3 separate regions of the Homo sapiens genome follow, and regions 1 and 2 are each linked to region 3. The links are contacts of gene promoters, found by promoter capture Hi-C in human tissues and cell types (Jung and others, 2019). All regions are on one chromosome and are shown on one strand. The core of a region is centred on a gene start or on the middle of the fragment in contact, and the rest is flanking DNA. Distances in the headings are between cores, read along the strand shown. Region 1 overlaps CMTR1 (cap methyltransferase 1). Region 2 overlaps CMTR1 (cap methyltransferase 1). Region 3 holds the start of CCDC167 (coiled-coil domain containing 167).

What was found. Contacts are between HindIII fragments. The study calls those that stand out against the background at their distance.
Region 1: a fragment that was not itself captured here is called in contact with the fragment with the promoter of CCDC167 in region 3 in 6 of the 25 tissues and cell types used here (IMR-90 fibroblasts, aorta, dorsolateral prefrontal cortex and 3 more).
Region 2: a fragment that was not itself captured here is called in contact with the fragment with the promoter of CCDC167 in region 3 in 2 of the 25 tissues and cell types used here (IMR-90 fibroblasts and mesenchymal stem cells).

Annotation. Positions count from the first base shown.
Region 1 is chr6:37,436,003-37,438,946 of GRCh38, reverse strand. All of the region lies in intron 2 of CMTR1 (cap methyltransferase 1), which reads right to left. Among named protein-coding and RNA genes, the nearest start is that of CMTR1, 4.3 kb to the right of the region's middle. The HindIII fragment of the contact is 3,637 bases long and covers 1-2,944 here.
Region 2 is chr6:37,452,933-37,455,776 of GRCh38, reverse strand. It overlaps CMTR1 (cap methyltransferase 1), which reads right to left. Exons shown (of 24, transcript NM_015050.3): 7 at 2,636-2,730; 8 at 2,465-2,537. Among named protein-coding and RNA genes, the nearest start is that of CMTR1, 21 kb to the right of the region's middle. The HindIII fragment of the contact is 3,738 bases long and covers 1-2,844 here.
Region 3 is chr6:37,498,506-37,501,205 of GRCh38, reverse strand. CCDC167 (coiled-coil domain containing 167) reads left to right here and starts at 1,313. Exons shown (of 4, transcript NM_138493.3): 1 at 1,313-1,384. The coding sequence starts at 1,343. RefSeq lists an enhancer at 1,121-1,320. The HindIII fragment of the contact is 4,936 bases long and covers 1-2,700 here.

The DNA.
Region 1 (2,944 bases), core at 382-2,881, 63 kb after region 3:
AACATTATGTTCAGGTAGAAGTGGCTGCAGTAAATGGAAACACCTCTGCTTTAATAGAATGATTTGAATAGGAAAGCTGCATATACATTTCAGGGGATATGTAGACAGCAAACCACCAGGGTATACTGTCCGGGGGACACCTAAGAGAATTAGATACAGAACATAGGTGATATAAATGCTAAGTACTTAATGAAATGATCTTCTGCAGACTGGAGGAGACAGGCAAAATGAAAACTGTGACGCATTTTAAGCTTCTTGGAAAAGATACTATTGTTGCCTTTTATCAGTTCTATTCAGTAACTATTTACTGAGCTTTTGCTCCAGGCTAGGCATGGTGGGAAAGAAGGCACAGGGAGCAGTCTTGCTGATAAAGATACTGCCCTCAGTTTCTGTGTCAATGCAGAGCTGCCCCTTCCTAAAATAAATTAACCTAGGGAAATCTAGAAATGTTGGTTTGCCTCTGCCTCCCATCTCATTTTCTGCAAATGAAAGGACGAAGTGGCCTCTTGCCAGACACATACAAGGAACTGGACACCTCTGGATTTCCATTCTTTTTTTTTTCTTTTTGAGATAGGGTCTTGTTCTGATGCCCAGGCTGGAGTGCAGTGGCATAATCTTGGCTCAGTGCAACCTCTACCTCCTAGGCTCAAGTGATCCTCCCACCTCAGTCTCCCGAGTAGCTGGGTCTACAGGTGCATGCCACCATGCCCAGCTAATATCTGTATTTTTTGCAGAGGTGGGTTTTCACCATGTTCCCCAGGCTGGTCTCAAACTCCTGGGCTCAAGCAATCCGCCCACCTTGACCTCCGAAAGTATTAGAATTACAGGCATAAGCCGCCATGCCCAGCCTGGATTTCCATTCTACACACACAACAGCAATAGTCAATCCTGACTGAGTCATATAGTACCACTTCCAGAGAAGGGGGAAGAGTAATCTCAATTCAGTCACAAAAGCTTGAAATTTAAATCAGAACGGTTTCCTTGAAGGATCCTTACCCTTATACACTTACCTTCTTTTACCTGGGACTTGTCCTTTCCTTACTTCAAAGAGATGTTACTTGAGAGCAAATGTCCCCCAAGATCCACTTAGAACCAGATATCACTTGTTCCCCAGACATACTCTCTCTTTTTCCCTTACAAGCCATCTCTCCCAATACCCCTACCCAAGGAGATTCTATCTTCACCAAGCTGCTCAAATTCCAGGTGAGAGGTAAAATTCCCTTTCCTCAAGAATCTCCAGAACCATCGCGTGCAGTAAGTTTTTGCCTTCTTACTCAGGAACTTCAATTCCTACCTACCCTGGAATCTACTGTGACTTTGAAGCAGAGGTGTCCAATCTTTTGGCGTCCTTGGGCCACACTGGAAGAATTGTCTTGGGCCACACATAAAATACACTAACAACAGCTGATGAGCTTTTTTTTTTTTTTTTTGAGACGGACTCTTGCTCCGTGTAGTGCAGTGGCACAATCTCGGCTCACTGCAAGCTCTGCCTCCCGGGTTCACGCCATTCTCCTGCCTCAGCCTCCCGAGTAGCTGGGAGTACAGGCGCCTGCCACCACGCCCGGCTACTTTTTTCTGTTTTTTAGTAGAGATGGGGTTTCACTGTGTTAGCCAGGATGGTCTCGATCTCCTGACCTCGTGATCCGCCCACCTTAGCCTCCCAAAGTGCCGGGATTACAACTGTGAGCCACCGCGCCTGGCCAGCTGATGAGCTTTAAAAAAAAAAAAAAAATCCCCCAAAAATCTCATAATGTTTTAAGAAAGTTTACAAATTTATGTTGGGTCCCATTCAAAGCAATCCTGGGCCACAGGTTGGACAAGCTTGCTTTAAAGGCGTGAACACCTCCACATACAAAGCTGCAACTGACTCTCTTATCTAGCCTGGACTACAGCGACACCGATGCTCCATTCGCTGTACCACCTGTCAAGCTTCTCTCTGGACCAGCTTCTCAGTAGCAGCTGATGAGTAACTGCCCTTCAATAAGCTTATCACTTGTGAATAAACTGTATTTCCTACTACCTTCAAAGGGTGCTTCACACCCTTTCAGTCACCAATCTGTTATGAAATTTCATTCCAGTTTCCCAGTGATCCAACAGAGGATCCAATATGCAAGCCTGCTGGTGTGCTGGGTTGAATATGGTATCCTCCCCAAAGCCTGTAAATGTGACCTAATTTGGAAATAGGGTCTTTCCAGATTACATCAAATGTAATACTAGATTACAGTGGGCCCTATCCAATGACCGATGTCCTTATAAGAAGAGGGAAATTTGGATACAGACACACACAGAGGAAAGGTAGAGGCAGAGATTGGAGTTATGCTACCACAAGCCAAGGAACACCAAGGAATGCTAGCAGCCAGCAGAAGCTAGAAGTGGTAAGGAAGGTCTTCCCAAGAGCCTTTGAGGGAACATGGCCCCACCAACACTTTGATTTTGGACTACTAGCCTCCAGAGCTGTGAGAGAATAAATGTCTGTTGTTTTGGGTCACCCAGTTTGTAGTAATTTGTTACAGTAGCCCTAAGAAACTAATACAGCTGGCAAGTCAAGGTAAATGCAAATTTACCTTGAGGTATTTGAGGCAAGCTCCCAGACATTTTACCATTCCTCAGAAAGCATCTATGGAAACTGTGAATAACCCTAAAAGACAGGCAAAGCAAAATGCTAGTTTCAACCAGATTAGTGAAATCTTCGACGCTTAATGCAAACAGTGAACGCAGCAATGCTCCAGTAGTTGGATACTTCTGACCACAACCGCTGAAGGAATTGAGAAAACGGTATGCATGCAAAAAAAGTGAAAATTAGGCTCGACGGCCGCAGCAAAGAGGCCCTCCCTTACAAAAGAGCCCCAGGATAATTAACAGCTATTAAGGGCACACAGCACTCAATGCTCACCACTACTTCTAACTGGTTTAAGGCAGCAAGAGTGCCACCTACTGAAGGACA
Region 2 (2,844 bases), core at 145-2,644, 46 kb after region 3:
CAATCAGATCAACTTCCTCAGAGTCAAAACTCTTATCCTTTTCCATGTTTTTCTCTTTCCAGTGGCGAGTACAGCAGCACTGCACACTCAATGGAAATTAGACAAATGATGTCTAATTTCCTCAGCTAGGACTGAAACTTAGAGATCTACCTTCAGTTGTCTTCTGCAATGCTTCACAGACAATGTATTCTTGTCTCAACAACATTCCCAGGCACTCGAACCCCTGACATAATGTAACAGTTTATAATATGCTTCCATATACTCCAAGGATCTAAATTTCCCTCCGTCCTTTGTCTCTTCCAGTTCTTGCTTATAGCTTCTTTATTTTCCTCCCCTTGCCCCCTTTCTCCTTTACCATAACCTGCAGCACCACAGACCTACTTAAAAACTTCAGAGTTGGCTGGGCGCGGTAGCTCACGCGTGCAATCCCAACACTTTGGGAGGCCAAGGCAGGCGGATCACCTTAGGTCGGGAGTTTAATACCAGCCTGACGTGGAGAAACCCCGTCTCCACTAAAAATACAAAATTAGCCAGACATGGTGGCACATGCCTGTAATCCCAGTACTTGGGAGGCTGAGGCAGGAGAATCACGTGAACCCGAGAGGCGGAGGTTGAGGTGAGCTGAGATCGCGCCATCGCACTCCAGCCTGGGCAACAACAGCGAAACTCCGTCTCGAAAAAAAAAAAAAACTTCAGTCTGCTCTCTCCATCACTTGTCATCACCTCTTAACATCTTCACATTCCAAGCTTCAAATTCTCCTGCTCTTAGTCTATAATTTGCCTGATCCAAGAGCCATTATGACCCTAGCAAACATGGGTGTGTGCCTGGGCCTTCAGCCACTCCCTCTTCTGCTGGGGACTGCTCTAGTGTCTCTGCTGGCCTGAAAACCACACCAAGCCTGTGGGGCTTGGCTGTAACTCTGGTCCTCAGGGGAAAACGGAAATGAAAAGAGAAAATAAAACACCAGGGGCTCGAGAGAAATCACTTTTTTTATAGTGAAGCATAGAGAAACATCTCTGAAAGGGCAATTCTCCGTGGCCACTAACAATCAATTCAGGTCAAGAAGCTGCCTGAAGCATTACAAACACGGCTGCCTTTTCCTATGTAACTAACACCTCTACCCTCAACCTGAATGGTACAACCCTGGTGCCTACTTCATTTTCATGACAGCAAAAGGCAATAACCAGATACCAGCTGCTGGAGGCATTTGTATACAAAAGCCAAAAAAGACACTGTGACTTCCCATCAGCTTGACAGAGCTCCTCTGCCAGGCAGGGGTTTAAAGGAAATCATTTGGAGCTCAGAAAATTAAATCAACATTATATCAACCTAATTTTCTCAAGATGCTAATTCCAAGAGCCCTTTTGTGCTGCCTGCTGGTACTGGAGAATGGGAAGGGAGACCTGGGAGTGAAAAATGAGTAATGGCTGGAGGGGCTACATGCCAGTTTTGCCAGCAAGGAGGAAGCAGTTAGGTAGGTGGAGCTGAAACATTAAAGAACTTGGAAAACAAGTTTCTTTAGCCAGTGGATAATCAGGGGGTCTAGTGGAATGAGGGTGAGTGAAGCAGAAACAGGTTTGGGGATAGCTGGCTCCTGGCCCTATCACTGTCAAAGAAAAGTAACTTTCTAGGACCGGGTAAAAATGCTTTGAAACCCTGAAGGGAATTCTAGAATGAAATTTCCTTTTTTTCTTTCTCTATCACTATGGCGAGTCTATGTTCAGAGAAATGAGATGCAGCAGAGTAGAAACTCACTTTGCTTTACCACTTCTTGAAAAGGGCCAAAGCCTTATAATTATGATCCCACGCAAAGCTTGTTCAGAGAGGCAGAGAAGGAAAGTGGCCCAGTCTAAAATTACAGTCTTAGTGCTGGGACAAATCTTAAGAGCCTTTTGGTTCTACCCTAGCCCTCTGGCAGGTTAGTACGGCTCATTTCAGAATGAGGGAGCTGAGGCCCAAAGAAGGTATAAACTTAAGTAATCCATCCTGCTTCATAAATGCTATGTCATGTCCCTCCTCACCACATTCCAACAACACAGGCTAGATTTTCAGATACAACACTGATTTTAAATAGATCAATGAAAATGCCCACTGAAATGCCCACATTTCATCCAACACTCAAACCATATTCCCCTCTCATTACCAGAAACAGCACCCAAATCAGGTGATGTCACCAAGTTTCAATTTGGAAAATAAGCTTGCTATATAAAAACAGTATTCACCCTTCCACTCTACCTTCTGTAGGGTTAGTGGCTCGGATTCCAGGACTGAAGCCCTGAAGACAACTGCTTCACTCCTGGGACCACAGAAGCACTGTGGGACCCTATCTGAGGAGCTCAAAGCAAAGTATCTCCATCACACAGTCAGAATACTCTCCTAGCATTGAACAAATGGCAATGGCTGAGCCACTGAAACTTAAGCCCTCTTAGCACCATGAATTCAGAAGCAGAATCTTGTTCTCACCCCATAAGAGTCCCGCGGATTTGTGAACATGCGATCAAATACAAAATCCATGTTAGCCATCTTCATTGCTGCCCTGCAATAAAGCAAGACAGAAAAGTACTAGATGTACTAGGCTCAATTGAAAAGGTAGAGCAGGGAGCATCAGGGGAGGGGAGGGAAATGTCAGCAAACCTGTTTAGAAAGAAGACTCCTCGGATCATCTCATAGGGATTGGCCCGAGTCCGAGCTCGCCGCATCTCTTCCCCATCCAAGACATCAAACACGCTCTGCCCAGAGAATCAGAACCTCAAGGTGAATTCCAGGATAGGAAAGGGACCTTAAGACCCTGCAGTGCCCAACTCACAGCCCTCCAAGGAACAAGATTCCTGTGGCATCTCAGC
Region 3 (2,700 bases), core at 64-2,563:
AGGATTATAATGCACCAATAAGCACTCTGTGTCTACCTAGGGATTGTAAATGCACCAGTCAGTGCTCTGTAAAAACGCACCAATCAGCGCTCTGTGTCTAGCTAAAGGATTGTAAATGCACCAATCTGCACTCTGTAAAAATGCACCAATCAGCACTCTGTGTCTAGCTAAAGGACTGTAAATGCACCAATCAGCACTCTGTAAAATGGACCAGTCAGTGCTCTGTAACAGGGGACAAATAAGGGAATAAAAGCTGGCCATCCCCCAGTCAACAGTGGCAACCCACTCAGGTCCCCTTCCATGATGTGGGAGCTTTGTTCTTTTGCTCTTCACAATAAATCCTGCTGCTGCTCACTCTCTGGGTCCGTGCTACCTTTAAGAGCTGTAACACTCACCGTGAAGTCAGTGAGACCAAGAACCCACCTGAAGGAACCAACTCCAGACACAGGATTACAGGCCTGAGCCACCGTGCCCGACTTTGTTTTTTTTTAATTAAATAGGCAAGAATACAAAATAACAGAGTGCATTACAGGAGGTAAAGGTACTTACTGTGAAACTTTGGTTTTGGTTTCATGGGTAACTGGGCCATGGTATAAAATACATTTTTTTATCGTAGGGTCACAGTCAAAACATTTCAAAGGCCGTGGGTCTATGGTGTACAGTATAGTACGATTACAACAATGTAAAATACTGTGTGTGAGGCCAAGCCTGGGAGGAATAAACAGAAGCAAAGAGGAACTGATAAAGTTGGTAGAATAAAGGATGCTGCTTCTCAGTTATATGTTTTCTGTGATGTTTGTAGGTTGTTCTTACAATAAAACAAACCAAAAAAAAAAAAAAAAAGAAGTCAAGACACAAAGGAGAAATAACAATAGAGGGCCATTATCAGATTCCATTGGCCGAGAAGCTCAAGGCTCCAGCACCGGCCTTGAAGGATGGACAGACTTTGAATGGGGGGCGTGGCCTAAACAGGGACGGGGTTGTTGCTGAAACACAAAACACACTGAAAGAGAACATGGGGTTAAAAAAGGCTCTCAGTGATGCAAAGCGGCTTAAAACTGGGGAAGAAAGGGGCAGGTCTACTCCCGGGCTGTACATTCTGCCTCCCTGTACCGACTTTTCCACCCTCCACCCATCTAGGCTGAGGTCTCAAGCTAGAGGTTGCCCCTCATAAACATGTCCGCACCAAGCCGGCCGCGCCCCTCAACAAGATGGCGACGGCAGCAGCCCCACCTCCCGCTGACTCGGTGGCCAATGAGGGAGAAGCACGAAGACTTGAGCATGCGCACATAGCGACTTGGTGGGCGCGTCCAGTGATGACTGGGGGATCCCGGCAAGTAACATGACTAAAAAGAAGCGGGAGAATCTGGGCGTCGCTCTAGAGGTGAGGGGAAAAGTGGGGGTTGGGCCACCTCGTTAGTTGCCTTCTCCTGGCCGCGGGATAAGGGATAGGCTGGGCTATAGATAGGAGGAGGAGCCAAGCGTAGGATGAGAGGGCGACGCGGTTTGGGGAGAGGGACGGGAGGGGTGAGAAGGCCCACGGGGTTCCCGGAGGACAGGGAGCCCGAGGAGGTGCCGGATGGGCGAACCAGACTCTCTGGAGAGGGCATCTCCAGAGAGGAAGAGACATGGAAGTGAAGGGGAGCCCCAAAGACGGCCTGGCATAGAAGTGAGGGAACTCAAAGCGGGGGACACAGAACAAAAGGGATGGGTACAGAGGTGAGGGAGACCCCAGAGAAATAGGGACCTGTAGAATCTAAGGAGAACTCCCAAAGGGCTAGGACTCAAAGATGAGGGAGCCCATTCTGGTGTATATTATTAATGGTTTAAATATCCTCTAAAAGGGGAAATTTTTCCTCCGGAGTATGGAAGCTTGTACCTTCAAAATTACTTTGGGAATATGTAAAGAGAATTCTGGAATTGGTGATGTCACTGAATGGCTTAAAAATAATTTGCTGCATATAGAAGGGAAAGAAAACATACATACTGAGCAACCGCTATGTGCTACTTTCATTGCATTGTTAATCCTCACTGCAAGCCTGTGAGGTTTGTACAGATGAGGAAATTGAGGTTCCAGGTGGAACCCAGGCTGAGATGGTGGAAGTGGTGGAGCCTGGGAATCAAGCACAGGTGGTCTTCCTGGAAATTCATCTTGCTTCCCCTGTTTTCCTTCCCTTAGGGCATCCTCCCGGAGGTTGCAGGAGAGGTACAGGGTCATAGTCTTCTTCAGGCTTACTAGTGAGTTCAGTGATTCTCAAACTTTAGCATGCATAGAGTCACAGGGCTTGTTAAAAATGGAGAGTTGAACTCTTCCCACACCCCGAGTAATTCAGTAGGACTTTGATGTGCATTCTTAACAAGGAATCTGCTTTTTTTTTTTTAAGACAGAGTCTCGCTCTGTTGTCCAGGCTGAAGTGCAGTGGCGTGATCTCGGCTCACTGTAAACTCTGCCTTCTGGGTTCAAGCGATTCTCGTGCCTCAGCCTCCCGAGTAGCTGGGATTACAGGCACGTGCCACCATGCCTGGCTAATTTTTGTATTTTTGTAGAGACGGGGTTTCACCGTGTTGGCCAGGCTGGTCTTGAACTCTTGACCTCAAGTGATCTGCCCGCCCGCCTTAGCCTCCCAAAGTGCTGGGATTACAGGCATGAGCCACCACAGCCGGCCAGAATCTGCATTTTTTTTTTTTTTACAAGCCACA